2 separate regions of the Homo sapiens genome follow, and region 2 is linked to region 1. Evidence: promoter capture Hi-C in 16 types of primary human blood cells and fetal thymus (Javierre and others, 2016). All regions are on one chromosome and are shown on one strand. Each heading gives the region's core, a stretch centred on a gene start or on the middle of the fragment in contact. The rest is flanking DNA. Distances are from core to core; before and after follow the strand shown. Region 1 holds the start of SOX12 (SRY-box transcription factor 12). Region 2 overlaps CSNK2A1 (casein kinase 2 alpha 1).

Region 1 (6,436 bases), core at 2,938-5,437:
ACTGGATCTGACAGATGAGAATTAGGGGGAGGGGTGTCAGAGGGACAAAGGAGGGAAAAGCCTTGGACTCAGTTGTAAAACACCAGTCAGAACCTCAAAGACAAGAATCACTAGACTTCTGTTGCTCTTTGGTCATTCAGTTAATCTACTCTGCAGGCCAATGTGCGCCAGGCACTGGGACCAATCCCACCACTCCAGGCCCTCAGCTGGGGGCCTAACACAATCTGCAGATTCAAACAGGGAGGGAGAGGCAGCACCCCGAAGCCATGCTTCACCAGGAAGCAGAACCAAGCCCTGTCTCTGACCCTGGCTGCTTGCAGGCCCTCCTTTAAGTTGCTTTCCTGCCTGACCCCGTTTCCTCCTCTGACAATGGAGTAACACGATGGGCACCATGGTGAATGCTTCTCACCTCAAACTTCATTTCATCCTGTGAAGCAGCTATTATTATTATCCCCACGTTATACATATGGAAAGAGTCACACGGGTGCTCAGTGGTGGAGCTGGGCTTTGAGTCCAGACAGTGTGGCCCAATCTTGCTTCTTAGTCCTCATTAAAGGCACAGAAAGGCATGGCCAAGCCAGCCCCCTCGGACCAGACCTGCCTGCATACTTGTTTCATTTGGCCCACAGAAATTTTAAAATATGAGTCTCATTTTGAAATTAAGATGACTCAGAAACATCCATCCAGCTTTTCTTGAAAAATCTGGCCACCTGGCCACTGTGGACTGCATTCCCACAGGGTCACAACTGGCAGGAGGTAGGCCCCTTGAAGTGGGTCATGACACCACTGTCCACCCAGAGTCACTCGTCTATGTTACCTGCCTGGTCCCTACAGGGATGAGTTTGCTATTCTTCATGAAGGCCAGGGAGTCCTGACATAGAGGCCTAGACAGGCAAGGTGGCTTGCCCTGGGACACCCAGCTCGGGCCCAAATCACACGGACTTGAATCTGGCAAACTGTTTAGGGAGGGTTGAGGAAGAGCACAGACATGCAGAACCACAGGGCAAGGTCGGGGCAAATACACTTTATTCAGTCCTGGCATCAGACTGGCGGAGTCCTGCTGTGGGTGCCAGTGCCCCAGACAGAGGGACCCCACCCCTCAGCTACGAGACTAGTTCTCCAAGACCACAGACAGTGACATCTCTTCACTCACATGACGTTTTTTTTTTCATTGTCTTTTTTTGTTGTTGTTGTTTTTCTTAAAAAAAAAAAAAAAAAAAATAGAGCGCAAGAAAGGCCCAGAGCCGGAGCACCAAGCTTAAAGGAGGCAGCTGGTGGCTTTGTCAGCGACGGGAACGCGTGGGGCAGAGACCTGCAGAGACCCTGGGCAGGGGTCCGGAGGACTCTGGGACCGTTTGTTCCTGAGATTTGTGTGTGTGAATGAGAGTGTGTGAGCCACCCGGGAGGGTGAACACACGCCGGTGAGATACAGGTAGTGAGGGCAAGGGGGGTGTGGGGAGGCCGGAGGGGCGGGGCGGGGCAGAGAGATGGCGGCGTGAGAGGGGCCACAGCAACAGGGACAGGGCTCCCGAGGGCACCCTGAACTGGACACAACTTCCTCCTAACAGCAGCGTTCTCCCCATTTCTCACGTGGAAAAACCGAGGTGCAAACGGCCCATCACTACTCGGAATCCATTCTCAGTCTCACTGGCCAAGTCGATGGTCTCTCCCAAACCAGATGTTTAAAAGCGAGAGTCTTCCTGCCATCACATCTGCTCTCCACGCCTCAGTCCCAAACCCCTAGCACCAAAGTGCCTCAGTTTTTCCCGCTGTATACTGCAGCTTGAGTACTGAGGGTGGACCTGGGTGACAGGAAGGGCCGGTGCGCTCAGGGAGGAGCCCAGGTTGCGGGTGCCCTGAGGTGAGGGGGCACTTCCCAGGAGGGGGTGGGGAAGGTGCAGCAGGGATCCTGTCCCCAGACAGACTGGTAAGGTGCCTTGGTTTTTAGTTTTCTTGGGTGGTCCCTTCCTCTACTGCTGGATTTCCAGAGAAAGACCTTACCTCTCAATTCCCAGTTGGGGGGAAAAAGGGACGTATAGGTAGGCTGTAGAGGCAGCCACGCGACCGGAGAGGTGGTGCGCGTGGGTGTAGGAGACCCCATACCGGAAAAGGGGCTATGCCACTTGGGAGAGTTTCAGGCCCAAACCAACCCTTCCGAGTGCTCCTCCCATTAAGGCAGCGACGCCCCGTTGGCTGGAGAGGAAACCTAGGGCTCCCGGATCAAAGGATTTCCCAGGATCGCTCTACACTCGCCCCCGCTTTTGCCCGGAGCGGGCGAAGAGTGCGGCTCCGCTGGGACCAGCCCCCTCCTCCCCAGAAGCATTAAGCATGCGCACGAAGGGGGTGGGCCCCAGCGGAGGGGCGGGCCCTAGCGCTCCGGGGATAAAAGGGGTGCGCCCCTCCCCCCAGGGAAGGGAGGGGCGCAGGAGGCGCGTGCGTTGCCACCCGGCCGCATCGCCCCCCTAACCCAGAGAAGGCGGGCCGGGCGAGGGAGGAGAGATTCCGGAGCAAAGGAGGGGGCGGGTCCTCCGGCCACGAGGAGGGGCGTGTGCAAAAGGGGGGAGGGGTGCAGGTCTGTAGGAGAGGACGGGAGGTGTATCGGAGGGGGCTGGCTGCTGGTGGCTGTGCAGGAGGGGGCGACGTGGGGAGGGGCTTGGGTGTCGGGGAAGGGGTGGGGGTTGGGCTGCCTTGGGGTGTGTCTGCGGGGGAGGGGCATGTCTGGATCTGAGGGGGGATGGGCACGTCCAGGAGGGGGCAGGCTGCGCGGGAGATGGGGTGCCAGCCTCGGCCTCCGAGGGGCCCCAATACCTGATTCCTGTATGTAAACAGCTGGTTTGGGGGCGTGCGCGCCCCGCTGACGGTGGGCTCAGTAGGTGAAAACCAGGTCTGCGATGCTAGACGGGCGCCAGTCCCCCGCGATCATCTCGGTAACCTCGGGGGTGCAGTAGTCCGGGAACTCGAAGTGCGACGTGCCCGAGGGAGGCTGCAGGTCCGGGTCGCGATCCAGGGCGCTGCAGTCCAGGCCGGCCGGGCCAGGGGGCAGCCTGGACAGAAAGCCCAGCGACTCCTCCCCCGACGCCACCGTCTCCTCTTCACCTTCCTCAGCCGCTGCCGCCTCCTCCTCCTCTTCCTCCGGCTCCTCGTCCTCCGACGGTGTCGGGGAGGCGGCGGCGGCGGCGGCCGCCCCCTCGCCCGACGGCCCTTGGGCGCGCTCCGCTTGTCCCCGAGCGGCCCGTCCCGCCGGGACCATCCTCCACAGCTCCCGCCCCGGGGTCTCGACCAGGCGCACTTCCAGCAGCTCCTCGTCGTCGTCTTCATCGTCGTCCTCGGGCGCCGCCGCCCCGCCCCCCAAAGGCCCTCCCGCTGCTCGGCGGCCCCCGCGGCCAGGCAGCTGCGGCCCGGGCTTGAGCCGGCTGCCGCCACCGCTACCACCGGGGGGGCGGGGCCGCGCCTTGGCGGGCGCCCCCTTGCTCTTTTTGCGCGGCCGGTACTTGTAGTCCGGGTAATCCGCCATGTGCTTGAGCCGCAGCCGCTCCGCCTCCCGCACGAACGGGATCTTCTCCGAGTCCTGCAGCAGCTGCCAGCGGCGGCCCAGGCGCTTGGAGATCTCGGCGTTGTGCATGTCGGGCCACTGGTCCATGATCTTCCGCCGTTCGTGCTGCGACCACACCATGAATGCGTTCATCGGCCTCTTGATGTGGCCGCTCGGGGTCTTGCACCAGCCGGGCTCGCGCGCCCCCTCCTCGGCCGGCCCGGGTCCCGGGGGCGGCGGCCCGCCGTCCCGCTTGGCCCTCGCGCCCCGCTGCTGCACCATCGCGCCTGGGCCCGGGGCCGCTAGACGCCGCCGGGGGCCGTCCGCATCCTCCGCGGCTGGGGGTGGGGGAGGAGGCAGCGGCGACGGAGGGGCGGCCCCGCCCCGCGGCTCGGCCCGGCCCCCGCGAACTGGGGAGCGAGGAGCTGGGCGCTCGGGCCCAACGGACGGCGGGGGGAGAAGGTCAGCGCGGTCTCAGGCGGGCTCGGCGCGCCCCCGCCGCCTCCGGCAAGTTGCGTCCTGGCTCACAACACACATTGTTTTGCGGGGGCCGAGGAATCGCACCCTCCGGGCCCCCGCGGGCTCTTCCTGCAGCCTCTGGCTCCGCCGCGGCCCGCGCGCGCCGCTCCCCGCCCGGCCGCCGACGCCTTTCAGTGTCTTTCTCCCCGCGCGGCCCCGCCGGCGCGCGCACCACCCCTCCCCCTCGCCGTCTGCGGGCCGCTGCGGCGCGCGCGGGGCCGCCCCGTGTAAACACCGAGGTGCCCGCTTGGGCTGCGGCCGGGCCCCGCCTCGCGCTCGGGCGCCGCGTCACCCGTTGCTGGGCAGAGAAGCCGGTATTTGCATCTCCCAATCGCTGGCCGCCGGAGCGGGGCGGGGCTCGGGCTGCGGGGCTGGGCGGTCTCGCGGCTAGGATTGGGGGAGACCGGCGAGATCGGTTTCTTTTCTTAGGTTAGGGGTTGGAGGAAGGGTAGGGGACGCGAGCCTGCTTCCATCTGACGCTGGACGCTTGTCCCTGCCCCGCGTTGCCTTTTAAATTTTAGCTCATTCCGAGACACCTGCCGTCAGGTAGGATTTCCGCCCTTTCCTCTTTCAGGGACGTCTTTTCGGACCATCCCAGAAGAGAATTTGGGGGGCCCAAGACTCAGGAAAGCTTCTTAAGGGGACGAACTCAGGTTGTCGTAGATGTTGCCCCCCGCCTACTACACACAGGGTCCGACCACATATGGGACCAGCAAATGCTTTTGGACCTAGTGAACAAATCCCTTTCTCATATATATGTATATTTAATCTCGTTCGAAGCTCCATAAGAATCCGGAGGGAGAAGGGAATATGATAATATGATGCCCAGTTTCCAAATAGGAAGCACCGAGGACACGCAGACTAGGATTCGATTCCCAGGCTCGCGGTCCCAGCTGTCTCTCCCCTGCTCAGCACCAAGGGCCGCGGGGCACCTCGCCTGCCAGCCAAAGGTCCTGAGCTGGGCGGACTTCCCGCTTTTCACAAACCGCAGGCGACATTCGAGGATGCGTGGGTGCGCCATTCCCAGGTCCTACCCCACCCCGTAGCCTGCCCGGTGCCCGACTTGGGCGCGTCGCCCCACCCAAGCCTGGAGAAGCGTGCAGGGGCACGGGGCGGAGCCAGTCCTGGGGGCGTGGCCGGGTGGCCGGCACGAGGCGCGTGGCGGGGAGGGGCCGCGCGCTCCCGGCTCACCACGTGTGAGCCAGTTCGGGCACCACTGGGCGTGTGCCGCCCCTGGGGGAGGTCACCTTCACGGCGTCGTGAGCATGGGCGATGGGAGGGGGCGCTGAGGCCTCGCCCTTGGGAAGCAGGAGCTGGGAGGTGCCCGGATTAGGGTCTTTAAGGTGGCATTCCGCTGGGGCGTAGCGGGCATGGTTTGGGGCTAGGAGAATGCGCCTCTGGCGGTACAGCTCACCCACTTCTGGACGAGCGAAGGCCAAGAGCCGAGCTTGAGGGTGTGGGGCGGGGAGGAAGGACCGAGGTGCGGCTCCGCGGCGCGGGGGGCGGGGTGGGGGTGGTGGGGAGAAAGAAATTGGAGCATCCCTGGAGGGAGGGGGCGACTCTTAAAGGCACAGGGTGCTTGGAAGAGGAGGCCCTGCTCCCGTCCAAACGGTCCCTCCGCCTTTCAGAAGCTGAGATCTGGAAAAGCCTACGTGTAAAACCTTTACATCTGCAGCCTGAGCAGTCTACCCGATGGAGTCACACTTCCTGAGTTCACATTCCCAGTCCCTCCTTTTCCTTATCCTGAAAATGGGGATAATTCAGTTTCTCCCTCACATGGTGGTTTTACAGATTAAATGAGATAATGCATGTAAACACATCCTGATACCTAGGCAATGTTCAATAAAACTTATGATAGACGGGACGCGGTGGCTCACACCTGTAATCCCAGCACTTTGGGAAGCCAAGGCGGGCGGATCATTTGAGGTCAGAAGTTCGAGATCCGCCTGGCCGATATGGTGAAACCTTGTCTCTACTAAAAGTACAAAATAATGAGTCAGGCTTGGTGACGCGTACCTGTAATCCCAGCTACTCAGGAGACTGAGGTATGAGAATCGCTTGAACCTAGGAGGCGGATGTTGCAGTGAGCCGCTGCACTCCAGCCTGAGTGACAGAGTGAGACCCTGTCTAAAAAAAAACTAAAAGTTTTGAGAAACTAGATTTCCCAATAGTTACGCAGGTCACCAGCAACCCAGAGACATCACCATAATGAGAAAAAAAAATGGGCAGAGTGGGGACAGCTCTAGGATTTCAGAAAAGGTATCAAAGTAATGATTGTAGGACAAATAAAAGCTTTCTTGGAATTATCAACACCTTAACACTTTTCCCATAAATAAAATATTTGTTTTATTTTAGACGGTGTGTGATAGGTACCACAATCTTTTC
Region 2 (6,436 bases), core at 2,702-5,201, 160 kb before region 1:
TTGAGACGGAGTCTCACTCTGTCGCCCAGGCTGCAGTGCAGTGGCATGATCTCGGCTCACTGCAAGCTCCGCCTCCCAGGTTCACACCTTTCTCCTGCCTCAGCCTCCCAAGTAGCTGGGACTACAGGCACCCACCACCACCCCAGCTAATTTTTCTTGTATTTTTAGTAGAGACTGGGTTTCACTGTGTTAGCCAGGATGGTCTCGATCTCCTGCCCTCGTGAGCCACCACGCCCGGCCTTTTGTTTGTTTTCTGAGGCAGGGTTTTGCTCTGTTGCCCAGGCTGGAGTGCAATGCCATGATCATAGCTGACTGCAGCCCCGAACTTCTGGGCTCAAGTGATCCTTCCAGCTTAGCCTCCTGAGTAGCTGGGACTACAGGCGTGCACTACCACACCCAGCTAATTTTTAATTTTTTTGTGTGTAGAGAGAAAGTCTCACTATGTTGCCCAGGCTGATCTCAAACTCCTGGGCACAACCCATCCTCACACCTTGGCTCCCCAAAGTGCTGAGATTACAGGCATGAGCCACCATGCCCATCCTGTAACTAAGTTTAACCAATCTTCAGAGTAAATTCAAGAATGTTTTCTTGTTCTTCTGAATTGTATACTAAATAAAAAGGTCTTCTCCCCAGCTCCCCCAAAAAGCCTTCTTTCTCCTCACAGAAAAAGGAGAAAGGAACCAAATTAATAATAGATTTGCCAAGTGTTTAAAAATCTGAAGTTTTCTTGGGAGTATCTTTTATGCCCAGTCTTTCCAGGTTATTATCAGTTGATTTTAAAAGTTTCAGACTTTTTGTTCTTGTAGGAATTTCTTTCTTGGGGTCTTAAGGCTATAGCCCTGAGTTCAAAAAGCATTTTATGCATAAAAATAGTTTTTACAGTATTACTAATAATTGTGAAAAACAGAACACTGTCCTATTATAGGAAAATTAAAGATTGAATTCTGAAACATTTATGTAATAAAATACTAATGATACACATTAGATGGTCTCCATGGGCTAACAATTTGGAGGTTTTTTTTTTTTTTTTTTCATGTAAGTGAAGAAAACAATTCAAAATAGTATGTATATTAGCTGAGCATAGTGGTGTATGCCTGTAATCCTACCTACTCAGGAGGCCTAAGCCCAGGAGTTGGAGGCTGCAGTGAGCTATGATCACGCCACTACACTCCAGCCTGGGCAACAGAGCAAGACCCTGTGTCTTTAAAAAAAAAAAAAAAAGAGCCAGGCACAGTGGCTCACGCCTATAATCCCAGCACTTGGAAAGGCCAAGGCAAGTGGATCACAAGGTCAGGAGCTCAAGACCAGCCTGGCCAAGATGGTGAAACCCTGTCTCTACTAAAAATACAAAAAAATTAGCCAGGCGCGGTGGTGGGCGCTTGTAATCCCAGCTACTCAGGAGGCTGAGGCAGAGAATTGCTTGAACCTGGGAAGCTGAGTTGCAATGAGCCAAGATCACACCCCTGCAGCCTGGGCGACAGAGCAAGACTCTGTCTCAAAAAAAAAAAAAAAAAGTAAAAATTGTTTTAAAACCGAGTGAAAGATGCATAAAAGAAAAAACTAAAAAAAAAACTAAAAAAAAAAAAAAAAGAAAAAACTAGCCAGGCACGGTGGGTCATGCCTGTAATCCTAGCACTTTGGGAACCTGAGGCGAGCAGATCATGAGGTCAGGAGTTTGAGACCACTGGCCAACGTAGTGAAACCCCGTCTCTACTAAAAATACAAAATTAGCCAGGCATGGTGGCACGCGCCTGTAGTCCCAGCTAGTCAGGAGGCTGAGGCAGGAGAATTGCTTGAACCCGGGAGGCGGAGGTTGTGGTGAGCCAAGATTGCGCCACTGCACTCCAGCATGGGCAGCAGAGTGAGACTCTGTCTCCAAAAAAAAAAAAAAGAAAGACTAAAAAGAAATATATGAAGATGTTATTAGTGTTTTGATTTTGAGTCAGTGGAGTGATTTTTTTTTAATTTTAAAAATTAATTTTTTATTTTGAAGTGACAAGCCTGAGGATTCACAGATAATAACAGTGAGTTTACTTTTATGCAGATGTACGATTATAGTTTGGATATGTGGAGTTTGGGTTGTATGCTGGCAAGTATGATCTTTCGGAAGGAGCCATTTTTCCATGGACATGACAATTATGATCAGGTAATATATGTTATACCCATTGAAAAATGTACTGGCCTAATGCAATGATAGCCAGCACTGCCTGTAACTTTCAGTTCACTGTTTATTCAGCCACCCCGATATTGATCCTTAGATTGATGTTTCGGGAGCTACCAGCTTAGCCTTTTGAAATCAGACATTCCCCCCTAGTCTTTGTCATTTGCATTGCTTATTTTATTGTGAAGAATACATATAAATTGTCATCCAGATTTTTAAAATAGGACATTACCTTAGAATTCTCCTAATAAACCCTTATCTCCAATATGGTGTTTTCTCCAATATGTGAGCCCATATGTGGTATTTCTGTGATCCTTTTGGCTCTTTATATGGGTTGAGTTACAGATGTTTCTTAAACTAACTCCACTTCCCCCTTGAAGATCAAAGGGCTCTTTCATTCACAAGAACCTGGAATGATTCTAGGACCTTGTGGAAGGTACCATTGTCTTGTTCCCTTTGAGCACCATGTCCAATTTTAATGAGTCAAAGAATACAACCTGAATTCCATTAAAGTCAATAACTCTGTATCAAGTGCATGCAGTACTGAGGAATACAGAAAAAAGAAAGAATAGTTTTCTTCCCCTCAGATAGTTCATAGCTGATCTTGTAAGGGAGTCAAACATACAACAAAATAGGTTACAGTCATAACTTCAGAGTAGAAATGTGGACAAGGCACAAAAGGCAGTAGTGGTGAGTAGTTTGAGTGTGCAATGGGAGCTTCCCAAAAGAAGTGACATCTTCAATTGGGTTTTGAGGGGAGAAAAATAAGGGTTCACCAGGGTGACATTTCAAGAGGAAGAAACCAGTTTATAAAGTAGTTTGCTTTTTCTAACACTATCACATTGAGTTGAAGTCTAAACTGTTAGGAGGTAGCATTCATACCTGTAGACATGATGACCCGTTTATGTAAATTCAATCATTGTTAATTGTTGATTTGTTAATATAATATGCTTGTGATATGGGTTTTTGTCTTTCTTTAATACTAGTTGGTGAGGATAGCCAAGGTTCTGGGGACAGAAGATTTATATGACTATATTGACAAATACAACATTGAATTAGATCCACGTTTCAATGATATCTTGGGCAGGTAAGTCATGAAACAAAATATGTGCATCTGTGGCTTAAGCACTTTGAGAGTGAACTGGCACTTAGGATCTTCAAAATAGTTATGTTTTCTTTGCCAGCACTGTCAGGATGTCAGTGGTCCAGTGCCACAGGATGCTGCATTGAGCAGGCCTCTGATAAAGGCATTGGATTGAATGGCCCTTTATTCAAATTAACTTACAGGAGTCTGATGGAGGGGTTATAGCTAGAGGATTCCTACAAAATGAATGTAGATTCTAGTAGAAGGGTTACAGTTGAGGCAAAAATCAAAATTTACCTTGCTTCTTTAAGTGAAAAACCTCTCTCCAAGAGAAAGAAATTGAAGTAGAAAATGCATGCTTTAAGACTGATGTGCAGGCTGGGCACGGTGGCTCATATCTGTAATCCCAGAACTTTAGGAGGATCACTTGAGCCCAGGAGTTGGAGACCAGCCTGGACAACATAATGAGACCCTCGACTCCATGCATGGTGATGTGTGGCAGTAGTCCAGACTACTAGGAAGCTGAGGCAGGAGCTTCCCTTGAGCCCAGGAGGGAATGCTACAGAGAGCAATGAACATGTGGCTGCGCTCCAGTCTGGGCAACAGAGTGAGACCCTGTCTCCAAAAAAAAAAAAAAAAAGGCTATATGCAGACAACCGACTCTTAACAGTAGTGACTAGATATAGTACTTATACACTTAACCACTCAACAGGAGGAGATGGACTTTCCTGATGCAAAGGCTTTTGCTGGCCAATTGGCAGAGATGCCAGGAATATGTGTGGGGATGGGAAATAGGCCTGGTGAGCTCAGCCACCTGACCCTCCTTGCTACACAGAAGCGGTCACGTCCTGTCAAGTAACCTGAATTATGTTTCTTAAAATTGAGAGGACTCAGATGTCTTTTTTCACTCTAGCTATGTTGTTTCCAGTCTCCAGTTAGCTTTGTTGTCCCACTCAGTGGCAGAGCGGTGCAAGACTACCCTCTTGAGTTTGGATCCCTCTTTGCTTTTGTCTGGGCTGTTAGCCACTAAGAAAAATGTAGGAATGAAATGTTGGGCTTCTGTGCCCACGTGGCCCATTTCTCATGCCCTCTTTTGGTCCTGCAGACACTCTCGAAAGCGATGGGAACGCTTTGTCCACAGTGAAAATCAGCACCTTGTCAGCCCTGAGGCCTTGGATTTCCTGGACAAACTGCTGCGATATGACCACCAGTCACGGCTTACTGCAAGAGAGGCAATGGAGCACCCCTATTTCTGTGAGTCCAGATATCTAGCCCACAGAGTTTGTGCAGGCGCAGAGTCCTATAGAACAGAGTCGTAATCCCAGCTCCTGTCAGCTTGCTGCAAAGTTAATTCACCCACACTGAGCCTCAGATTCTTCCAGTGGGGATAGTGATGGCAACTACATTGCAGAATTACTGGAAGAATTCTTCTGTAACAGAATACATGACACAAGAGCATTCCTAAATAAACTCTTTTCATACTGTGAGGATGACACTTCTCAGTGCCTCAGTCTGGAATGGTTGAATTAGAATACACAGCCCTGTATCTTTCCTGTCCCTAGTAATCATTCGTTGGAAAGAGCTAATGAGGCTTACAAATCTTAAAATTGTATGAACACCTTGACTTAGATTTGTGAGTATAGCCACCTGTGCCATCCTAAGTGAAAATACCACTGAGACCCACCCCATCTGCACTGTGATGTTAGCTGCAACATGACATTTTTCCTTCGGTGTGATGGTTTTGTACTGAATCATTTATACTTTTGCCCAATACCTGAAGCAGATAGATAGGCTGATTGGGATAGAGAATGTGGTCATAGCCCTAAGCTACATGGACCTATAGCTTTGGCCTACTTGGTACTGGGCTGTGGACACACTGGTAATATATTACCGTCTTTGCCGAGTTACAGTGTCTTGTCTCCATTAAACCTCAACAGGACCAGGGCTTCATTAAATTCGCTCTGCTATAAATAATTACCTCATCTTTCTACCATTTGATTGAAAGGTTAGCTTTTACCACAGTTTGATAGGAAAGCTATTTCTGCTTTTTACCACTTGTCTAATTCATGGTGAAGGCAATTGCCACCTTAAGTTCTTTGGGGAATAATGTAGAGTATATATAAATTGCAAAGAATGAAGCTGGCTGCTTTCAGGCTTCCAGACCATTAGTTTAATCTTTCAAGCAAAACAGAACCTAGCCTTTTTGTCTCTTTTCTAGACACTGTTGTGAAGGACCAGGCTCGAATGGGTTCATCTAGCATGCCAGGGGGCAGTACGCCCGTCAGCAGCGCCAATATGATGTCAGGTCAGTTCATTGGTAAATTTTCTTTAAAAAAATGTGGAAGTCAATTACTGTTCTTAGCTTTGTGGTCTGATTTCTTGTATACCTTCTCTTCTCCGTACTGGTGGCCTTGTGACTTTTTTTTAACCAGGTTTCAGCATGCTTGACATTTGGTATACTTTAGTGATACTGTCTTGAGTAGGGTATCCCCTTCTAGGCTAGAATCTCAGCATTCCTGGCTGAAAATTTTTGGCATAGGGGCTTGAAAGTGCCAAGCCATGAAAAGGAAAAATACACCATTTCATCTTATAGTTTGAAATGACAGTAGTTACATGGCCCTTAGAAACAATGTTAAGAAATGGGGTATAGAGGTGGGGTTTATACATAGGTGTGTATGTGTACAAGGACAGTTCCGTGACATGTGCCAGAGCAACTATAGAGTGCCTATCAGTTGTAAAAACATAAGTAAAATGGTTTTCCATTATTGGATCATTGTGACGCACAGTGAATTTTTATAGAGTACCCAGTTATTCCAAAGGAACTACAGGCACATAGCATAAGAATTATACATATAGGCAACATCCAAGTGGGTGCATATCTGGTAGTGAAGGCATTTACTTACATATCCTCAAATAATTGCTGTTGCCCTCCTCTTTTTTAAGAAAAGAACTAACTGCCTTCTAGAATTTACCCCTTGAGTATCCTACCTCTGTACAGAGTAATGTATATCCAAACTTACTTGTAGCCTTATTTGTAATAACAAAACATTGAGAATAGCTATCAGTAGGAAACTGGTTAAATCAGTTATGGTATATCCATTTAATGGAATGTGGTGCAGCCAGTAGAATAAGAGTTTCATGTTCTGTTAGATCTCCAACTCCAATATAATAATGTGAAATTTAAAACGCAA

Evidence for each region. The method cuts DNA at HindIII sites, captures the fragments that hold promoters and counts their contacts. A CHiCAGO score of 5 or more calls a contact.
Region 2: a fragment that was not itself captured here is called in contact with the fragment with the promoter of SOX12 in region 1 in 1 of 17 cell types (fetal thymus); the score reaches 5.7 in fetal thymus.

The regions. Positions count from the first base shown.
Region 1 is chr20:323,303-329,738 of GRCh38, reverse strand. It overlaps SOX12 (SRY-box transcription factor 12), which reads right to left and starts at 4,187. Exons shown (of 1, transcript NM_006943.4): 1 at 1-4,187. The coding sequence starts at 3,814. The coding sequence ends at 2,867. It overlaps NRSN2-AS1 (NRSN2 antisense RNA 1), which reads left to right and starts at 4,487. Exons shown (of 3, transcript NR_109990.1): 1 at 4,487-4,597. RefSeq lists silencers at 3,058-3,547, 3,568-3,627, 3,698-4,077, 4,188-4,497, 5,058-5,317 and 2 more. The HindIII fragment of the contact is 3,425 bases long and covers 1,260-4,684 here.
Region 2 is chr20:485,490-491,925 of GRCh38, reverse strand. It overlaps CSNK2A1 (casein kinase 2 alpha 1), which reads left to right. Exons shown (of 14, transcript NM_177559.3): 10 at 2,045-2,146; 11 at 3,148-3,248; 12 at 4,351-4,499; 13 at 5,464-5,550. Among named protein-coding and RNA genes, the nearest start is that of TBC1D20, 26 kb to the right of the region's middle. The HindIII fragment of the contact is 9,998 bases long and covers 1-6,436 here.